3 separate regions of the Homo sapiens genome follow, and all the other regions are linked to region 1. Evidence: promoter capture Hi-C in 16 types of primary human blood cells and fetal thymus (Javierre and others, 2016). All regions are on one chromosome and are shown on one strand. The core of a region is centred on a gene start or on the middle of the fragment in contact, and the rest is flanking DNA. Distances in the headings are between cores, read along the strand shown.

Evidence for each region. The method cuts DNA at HindIII sites, captures the fragments that hold promoters and counts their contacts. A CHiCAGO score of 5 or more calls a contact.
Region 2: a fragment that was not itself captured here is called in contact with the fragment with the promoter of ZDHHC9 in region 1 in 13 of 17 cell types (non-activated CD4 T cells, naive B cells, total B cells and 10 more); the score reaches 13.5 in non-activated CD4 T cells.
Region 3: a fragment that was not itself captured here is called in contact with the fragment with the promoter of ZDHHC9 in region 1 in 12 of 17 cell types (non-activated CD4 T cells, activated CD4 T cells, naive B cells and 9 more); the score reaches 18.3 in non-activated CD4 T cells.

Annotation. Positions count from the first base shown.
Region 1 is chrX:129,842,611-129,845,638 of GRCh38, forward strand. ZDHHC9 (zDHHC palmitoyltransferase 9) reads right to left here and starts at 1,276. Exons shown (of 11, transcript NM_016032.4): 1 at 1,086-1,276; 2 at 649-716. The HindIII fragment of the contact is 4,624 bases long and covers 1-2,058 here.
Region 2 is chrX:129,711,025-129,713,934 of GRCh38, forward strand. No RefSeq gene overlaps it. Among named protein-coding and RNA genes, the nearest start is that of XPNPEP2, 26 kb to the right of the region's middle. The HindIII fragment of the contact is 863 bases long and covers 906-1,768 here.
Region 3 is chrX:129,680,212-129,683,471 of GRCh38, forward strand. No RefSeq gene overlaps it. Among named protein-coding and RNA genes, the nearest start is that of APLN, 27 kb to the left of the region's middle. The HindIII fragment of the contact is 3,654 bases long and covers 1-3,231 here.

The DNA.
Region 1 (3,028 bases), core at 26-2,525:
GCCACTCGAATATGAATCACAGCAGGGAACAAGTCACCCTCTGGCAGGGCCAGGAGGTTCTGGACGCTCTGTGCACATACGTGCATTGTATTTACACAAAACAGATTTCCCCTCATCAAACCCTCTGCAACTTCCTGAGTCCGGGAAATGAAACAATCTGGCTGGTCTAGCCTAACATTTGTGAGAATCTTAATGAAACCACATCAGAGACCTGTAGGTGAAAGGCTGACTTAAGCAGGAGAGATTCTGGAATGGTTGGTGACTGCTGATGGCTGGTTGGGGGGTGGGGAATGGCAGCAGCTAAGAAAAGTCACAAGGGCGCTTTCTGGGACATGTCCTAAGTACCATCTCTACTCAGCATCCTGAATTCCCAGGCCCAGAGTTTCTCAGCCTCTGCTACCCTTCTCCTCCGCTCAGGTGTGGTGTTGTGGCCTCTATTTACCGACACCACATGCCCCACGCTGGCAGGACTGAGGCGGAAGCCTGCAGCCCGACGGACGGAGGGAGAAACAGCCAACTCGCGGGCTGGAGAGGGCAAAGGTCCAAAAACAGCCTAGGAGCGGAGCAGGGAAACGAGAAGGTAGAAGGTTCGGGGAAGGGGAGGGGGGCCCAGAGGTGCAGAGAACCCGTCCTTTGTGTAAAACTAACCTGGAAGACAATCTCCTCCCGATAAACCGGCCCAGCGGGAGAAGGGAGACCAGGAAGGGGGAGCCGGCCTGGAAGAACAAAGATCAAAATCCGTCGGGAAGCAGCGACCGGCTCCCCAGCGGGGGGCCGGAGGCCGGAGGCCGGAGTCCGGGGCCGAGCCGCGGGCGCGGCCTCTCGAGGCCCGCCCTGACTCCGCCACGCCGCGGACCACCGCCCCAGGCAGGTTGGGACGCGCGCCACATCCACACGCACACGCAGCCACACGCTCGTACACACTCACACACGCCCCGCCACGTGTAGTCACCCCGGGCCAGGGGCTCGGCGGCTGCCGAGTTGAGAAGGGCGGTGCCGACGTCCCCGCCTCCAGGCGCCGCGGAAGGGGAGGCAGCCCACCCTGCAGCCGAGCCCAGGAGACCCCCGCCCCCACCCCTCGTTACCTGAACCACGGAGACCCAACTCGGCCGGCAGCTGACGGCAGGAAACGGACCGTCCCAGGGAATCACGTCGGCAGCCAAAGGTGGCAGCGACTTGTCCTCCCCGGGCCGGGAGGCTGTCTCCTCCTGACAAGGGGCCCCAGTGGTCGGGGCCCTAAACCAGCTGTGGCAACCGCCCACCACTGGCCAAATGGAACGCTCCTCACGTCACCAGGTCGCTCCAGTAGTTGCTCGCCCTCTATTGGCCGATCGGCCTCGGCGCCTCCGCCCCGGCCGCCCCTATCCCGAACTGCCATTGGTTTTGCCTAACGCCACTCGACGATGCCTCCGCCCACTCCTCCACCCATCTCCCTGCTGCATGCCCACCTGCCAAGCCACTGCCAGCCTCTCTTTGGGGTCTGAGCGCCAGTATGTGAAGTGTTGCCTTCTATTAATATAGTTACGCAGAGACGGAGGTTAAGGGTAGTGCCGATGGGACAGCAAAGGGTGGAACCAGCCTACACACACGCGCGCGCGCGCGCACACACACACACGCGCGCGCACACACACACACAGTGAGATGCTGAAGCAACACTAGCTCACAGATCCGGGTGCTCACCCCAAACTAGGTCTGCCATGGGCCTCTCCAGCCCTGCTTGCATTTTAAAATCAACCGCAACTTGAGATTTTACTCTTTATCGGCATAAAAACAAGTCATCTGCCTCCCAAGTCTCATTCAGTAGCCAGGGACCCCATATCTGTCCCAGTCACCCTAGCCTGCATCTCTAAGTCTTTCAAATCAAAACACACAAACAAGCATAAAAAGCATGTTGTAAAGGATAAATGTCCCCAAGAACGTATTATCATTTTGCAGCACCTAAAACAACTAATTGACATTAATGGAGTTAAAGAAACTCCACTGAGGACATAAATTCTTCCAGGTAGGTAATGAAGTAAAGATTGCCAAAAAGGTTGTAAATTTTTATTCGGTTTGGAAAGCTTATGATGATTAAGGGGAGAATCCAAGGCAGAATTCCCACCCACCAACCAGATTGATTTTTTCCTTCTGCCACCCAGCTCTGCATTACTGCCACCATGAGCCACTGCTACTGATCCGAGTGAGTTGCATGCATTAAAAGTTTGAGATTGGGCTGGGCGCGGTGGCTCACGCCTGTAATCCCAGCACTTTGGGAGGCCGAGGCAGGTGGATCACCTGAGGTCAGGAGTTCAAGACCAGCCTGGCCAACATGGCAAAACCCGTCTCTACTAGAAAGACAAAAGTTAGCGGGGAGCGGTGGGACTCGCCTGTAGTCCCAGCTACCAGGGAGGCTGAGGCAGGAGGATCACTTGAACCCAGGAGGTGAAGGTTGCAGTGAGCCAAGATCATGCCACTGCACTCCAGCCTGGGCGACAGAGAGAGACCCTGTCTTAAAAAAAAAAAAAAAAAAGTTTGAGATTGAAGGGGGGAAACAATTGAGAACCACAGTATTATACTATAGGGTGACTTTAAAAGACACTAGGTCTGTTTTCACCAGTATGGCTCCTGCCTTCCAAATATAAGAGGAAATATGAGAAAAGGTTGAAGGTGGCATCTCCTTTCCAAGTGTAAGAGGAGATAAGAGAAAAGGTTGAAGATTGGAGGAGAATGCCTACATTACCAGCCTAGGTTTTCCTAAGCGTGATAAAAATTTCAAAGTTTTAGAGATTTGGTATTTGGAATTAGTACAGAAGAGACTGCCAAAGCTCTTCCTAAGGCAGTTGTATGTTAGTTGAAGGACCACATACATGGTCAAGAACTATTTTTCCTTTACAGTATATGTGTCCCACACAATATGAAACAAAAAGCTACATAATAATTACATTTGACACTTTCATGGCACCCTTCAAAATTCTTAAAGGATTTAAAAAACACTAGGTAATTCTGAGATGTGTTGTAATTAACTTGCAAAGGAAGGTTTGTCTTTATA
Region 2 (2,910 bases), core at 87-2,586, 130 kb before region 1:
AAAAGGTGTGAATGGGAAAACTGGGAAAATCCGAATGAAGTCTGTAGTGTAGTAGTATTGTACCAAGGTTAATTTCTTATGTTTGAGAAATATATTGTGTTTATGTCAAGTGTTTATGAAAGGTTGGATGAAAGGTCTATGGGAACTCTCCATTTCACAACTCTTCTATAAATCTAAAATTATTTTAAAACAAAAAGTTTTTAAGAAAATACCAGGCCGGGCGCAGTGGCTTATGCCCGTAATCCCAACACTTTGGGAGGCTGAAGTGGGCAGATCGCCTGAGGTCAGGAGTTTGAGACCAGCCTGGCCAACATGGTGAAATCTCATCTCTACTAAAAATACAAACATTAGCCGAACATTGTGGTGCACGCCTATAATCCCAGTTACTCAGAGGTTGAGGTAGGATAATCACTTGATCCCAGAGACGGCGATTGCAGTGAGCCAAGATCGTGCCATTGCACTCCAGCCTGGGCAACAAGAGCAAAACTGCATCTCAACAAAAATAAAAGAAAATACTCAACCCAAAAGAGGGCAAAAATAGAGGAAAAAGTTGACAAAGAATAGAAAGGAAGAATAGAAAACAAATAGAGAAGTGGATGACCTAAATTCAACAATATCAATAACGACATCAAATGTGAAGGGACTCTAAGCAGTACAATTAAAAGTTAGAGATTGTCCTACTGCATTAAAAAGAAAATTGGACTCAACATTTGTTTCAAGCATATGTTTTAAGCATAAAGACACAGATGGGTTAAAACTAAAATGATAAAGATGCACCAGGAGTGGCTATGTTAATTTCAAAGTAAGCTTTAAGACACAGAATATTACCAGGAATAGACATGTTTAATGATAAAACAGTCATCAGGACAATATAACAATCTTAAATGTGTATGTCCCTAATAACAAGCTTCAAAATACATGAACTCAAAACTGACAGAATTGAAATAAATAGACAAATTTGCAACTATAGTTGGAGAGTTCAACAGTTCTTTCTCAGTAACTGATAAAATAAGTAAACAGTAAATCAGTAAGAGTATATAAGACTTAACATCTTGACAGGAGTGGTGGCTCACACTTGTAATCTCAGCACTTTGGGAGGCCGAAGCAGGCAGATCACTTGAGGTCAGAAGTTTGAGACCAGACTGGCCAATGTGGTAAAACCCCGTTTCCACTATAATAAAAATACAAAAATTAGCCAGGCATAGTGGCAGGCTCCTAAAATCCCAGCTACCAGAGAGGCTGAGGCAGGAGAATCACTTGAGCCTGGGAGGTGGATGTTGCAGTAAGCTGAGATAGCACCACTGAACTCCAGCCTGGGTGACAGAGTGAGACTCAGTCTCAAAACAAAACAAAAACAAACAAACAAACAAAAAAACCCACTTAAACAGCACCCTCAATCAACCTGACCTAATTGGCATGAATAGAACACTGCACCCAATATCTGCAGAATACACAGTCTTCTCAAGCACATATGGAACATTCTCCAAGATAGACCATAAGCTGGACCATCAAACAAGTCTCAATAAATTTAAAAGGACTAAAATCATGAATGTATGTTCTCTGATCTCAACAGAATTAAATTCAAAATCAATAACAAAAAAGATATCTATGGAATCCTTAAATATTTGGAAATTAATGACACACTTCAAAATAATCCATGAGTCAGAGAATAAATCAAAAGGGAAATTGAAAAGCATTTTTAAATGAATGAAAATGAAGACAGCATATAAAAATTTGCGGGATGTCACTAAAGCAGTATTTAGGGGGAAGCTTATGGCACTCGATACCTATATTAAGAAAGAAGAAAGGTCTTAGATCAATGACCTCAGCTTTGTTAAAAGAAAAACTCTAGACAAATTAAATTTAACAGAGTTAAATTCAGCAAAGACCAATTTGCAAATCAGGCAGCTTCCTAAACCGGAATAGATTTAGAGTGACTCCAGCACTGCCATGTGGTTGGAGAAAATTTATGTACAGAAAAAGGAAAGTGATGTACAGAAAACGGGAGTGTGGGCTGGGCAGAGTGGCTTACGCCTGTAATCCCAGAACCTTGGGAGATCAAGGCTGGTGGATCGCTTGAGCCCAGGAGCTCCAGACCAGCCTGAGCAACATGGCGAAACCCCATCTCTACCAAAAATAGAGAAATCAGCTGAGTGTGGTGACACACGCCCATAATCCTAGCTACTCAGGAAGCTGAGGAGGGAGGATTGATCGCTTGAGACCCAGGAGGCAGAGGTTGCAGTGAGCCAAGGTTGTGCCACTGCACTCCAGCCTGGGCGACAGAGTGAGACTCTGTCTCAAAAAGAAAAAAAAAAAAAGAAAAGAAAAAGAAAATGGAAGTGAGGTACAGAACCAGCTGGATTAATTACAGCTCAATGTTTGCCTTATTTGAACACAATTTGAACAGTTGGCCGCCTGTGATTTGCCAAAACTCGGTGACTCGTACAAGAGCAGGTTACAGTTTGTTTACACATCCAGTTAGGTTACAGTTCACTATGCACACAGAAACCTTTAGGCCGAACTTAAAACACGTAAGGAGGCAATTTCATGCTAAACTTAACAGTTTCAAGCTTAAAAAGCTAGAAAAGGAAGAATAAATTAAGCCCAAAATAAGTAGAAGAAAGGAAATAACGAAGATAAGAACAGGAATCAATGAACTAGCAAATAGATAGAGAAGATCAATGAAACCAAAAGTCAGTGCTTTGAAAATATCAATAAAAACAATAAACTTCTACCTAGGCAGTATTAGTTATATGATTGTATATATTTATCAAACTCATTGAGCTGTATACCTATAATGGGTGCATTTTATTTTCTGTTAATTGTACCCAAAAACATGGACAAAAGATTTGAACTGAGACTTCACTAAGGTAGATGTAAAAATGGCCAATAAACACATGAAAAGATACT
Region 3 (3,260 bases), core at 155-2,654, 160 kb before region 1:
ACCAGGGGAGAAATGGCAGTGTAGGCCAGGGTGGTGGCAGGGAGGAGCGGAGGAACTCAAGGGCTACTGAAGAGGTGAAATCAACAGGACTTGATAATAGATTTGACAGGGGGAAATGTGAGAGAGGGGGACTGTCAAGGATAACTGCTAAGTTTCAGATTTAGGCAACTGAATGAATGGGGGCACCGCAGAGAAAAAGAGGCCTGGAAGAGGACAGTATTTGGAAGGAAGGTCATATGTTTGGTCCAAGTGGAGCTGTCAAGTATGCAGTTGGATAAGCTGTCTGAAACTTAGAGGAGAGATCTGAGCTACAGATGTAAATTTGGGAGCCATGAGGATAGGGGGTGTGAATCAATCACCTGGATAAAGATTGTAGAATGGCAAAAACAAACAAACAAAAAAACAACTTAGGGTTTGAAGAACTCTATCATTTACTGGCTTGCTCTTCCAAGGTCCCTACTATTGGGCAATGCTAACCTTTCCGCTTCCTAATCACTGTCATTTTTTAAATCTCATTCATTAAAGACTTTTGGTAAAAGAGTTCATGGTTTTCTCCTCTTCCAGAAACCCTGACATTCTCATGGATGACTTCTACATTCATGCAGACATCCCTTCCAATGTCATGTTCTCTCTATTCTTTGACTTGCTCATCTTTACCTCCTGCACTCCTCCTCAAGTTACACTCTGGCACAGTCACACCTTGGGCCTTGACATTGCTTTCAGCTGTGCCACTTTAAAAATCACTCTTTCAAGCCTCCCCGCTCTGCTACCTTCTCATCTTCCAGTTTTCTTGTGTGATTATTCCTGTGAGAACTGTTCTTCAACTTTATTGGGATGGCCAGCCCACTGACCCTTCTACTTCTTCCCACTCTACCAGCTAGCTCTCTGCTTTCCTGACTTCATTATCTAGCCTAAAGCCTTCCGTTTGTCAATTCAATACCAAAGATTGGCAGAGGCTGCCATGCTCCCAACAGATCCTGGATAAGAGGTGGGGAGGCTGAGGTCTTCTGCGAGTGTGCAGAGGGTATTAAAGTTGTATGCTGTGGATTAAAATTTAGATGTGGGTGTTCTGGGTGACATAGGAAGAAGAACCTCTATTTTGTTTTGAAAGTGGGCGTACCTGCCTTTCATTCTTGCCTGGACAGGCCACAGCCCACCTCAAGCTACTAAAGTGCCTGGGGGCCAGAGGCAACATGTTCCTTAAAGAAGCAGCTGTGGGTCAGCTCAAGTGTTTGGGCAAGTGTTCAGATAAAGCTCCAGAATACAGGGTCTTGGAGCATAAGAACATGATATTAGCCTAGACTGTTGGAAGGGTAGGTGTCCCTGGTCATTTACCGTTAGTGACCTTAGATCTGATGTTTGAGTAGCACGGACTTGGGGCTAGGGCTGAAGCTGGGCCCACATTACAGCCAGAGGAAATAGCAGAGATAAAGCAAAGGAGGTGGGATGTGTACAGCACTCCCAGCCAACAGTGAACAATCTAATTGGCTGGTACAGGGTGTCTGGGAAGGAGTTTGAGATTCCATTGCCCATCCGCATCCTACACTTGGCCTTTTGCCATTTGAGAAACTAATTAATAGACACATATTGTGATAGAGAGTGAGATTGTTGGGGATTGGAGGGTCCCCACCCATTCCAGGAATGACTGGAAAGGGTCTGCACTGACCGACTTAGGCTCTTCTTGGAAGATGTCACGTATTCTAGGAGAATTGTGACCAATTGCAACCAGACACACTCTTGGTCCTCTTGGTCCTTTTTTGTGTCATGGACCCTTTAGCAATCTGTTGAAGCCTTTGGTCCCCTTTTCAGAATAATATTTTTAGATGCATAAAATACAAAGGATTTAAATGGAAACCAAGTATAGTGAAATATAGCTATCAACTTTTTTTTTTTTTTTGAGATGGGGTCTCACTCTGTCTCCCAGGCTGGAGTGCTGTGGCACAATCATAGCTCACTGTAACCTCAAACTCCTGGGCTCAAGTGATCCTCTCACCTAGGCCTCCCAAAGTGCTGGGATTGTAGGCATGAGCCACTGCACCCGGTCTCCAACATATTTTTTAAAATTTGTGATGTCTGTGCTTCATTATTAGCACATTATATAACTAAATCTAGCTGTGAGTCTTATAACTATCACAATTTCAAAGCAATGATGAACATATTGCTATTTCAAGAGATGTGCTTCATTCTAATGTGATATGAAAATATGTGTAATTTCTGCTGGTGGCCAAGTCACAGGTCCTCTAATACTATGGTGGTTTATCACCTGCATTCATGATTGAAGGAAATGCTAAAATATAGTTAAAAGATAGCAGAAACAAAGATGTAGTTTTCCCCATCTAAGTTCATGAATCCTCTGAATTCCAGCCACAGACTACTTAGAGGAACAGGGACCCCAAGTTAAAGATCCACATAGCTTCCTGGTGTTCCTTTGTGGAAATTCCCTTTATCTTAGTCCATTGGGGCTGCTATAACAAAGGCCTGCAGACTGGTTGGCTTATAAACAGTAGACATTTATTTCTTACAGTTCTGGAGGCTGGGAAGTCGAAGATCAAGGCACTAGCAGATTTGGTGTCCAACAAGGGCCCAGTTCCTTCGTAGATGGCACCTCCTAGCTGTATCCTCACAAGGTGGAAGGGCCAAGGGTACTCTCTTGGGCCTCTTTTATAAGGTTACTAATACCATTCATGAGGGCTCTGCCCCCATGACCTAATCACCTTCCGAAGGCCCAGCCTCCTAATATCATCATGTTAGGGGTTAGGATATCAACATATGAATTTGGGAGGACACAAAAACTCAGATCATAGCACCTTTTGTCTCAAGTCTCCTTGCTGGAGGGCTCTTTTCCAGGATCATGGTTGGCGATTTGGTTTTTAGAAACAGGCTGAGGCCTGGCCTTCCCTCCACTGCACTCTTAGAGCCTGGGTTGTTTGGGTTTCTCTTGTGGCAGGTAGTACTTTCCACCTCAAGTAGGGTTCCTCTTTCAGCTAATGTCAACTGAACATCTGCTAAGTACAGGGCTCTGTGCTAAGCCCTGGGCATAGGAAGTTACTCCATAAAGAGATAGTTATCAGTAATAATAACTCCCATTTACCAAACACTTTTTACATGTCAGACACCATGTTGACACTTCATTCATTCATTCAGCAGAGATTTACCAAGTGCCTACTATGTGCCACTGTTCTAGAAGCTGTAGGTAGAGCAGAGACTAAGACAAACTCCCAGCTCACATGAAGCTTACACTCTAGTGGGGGAAGACAGAT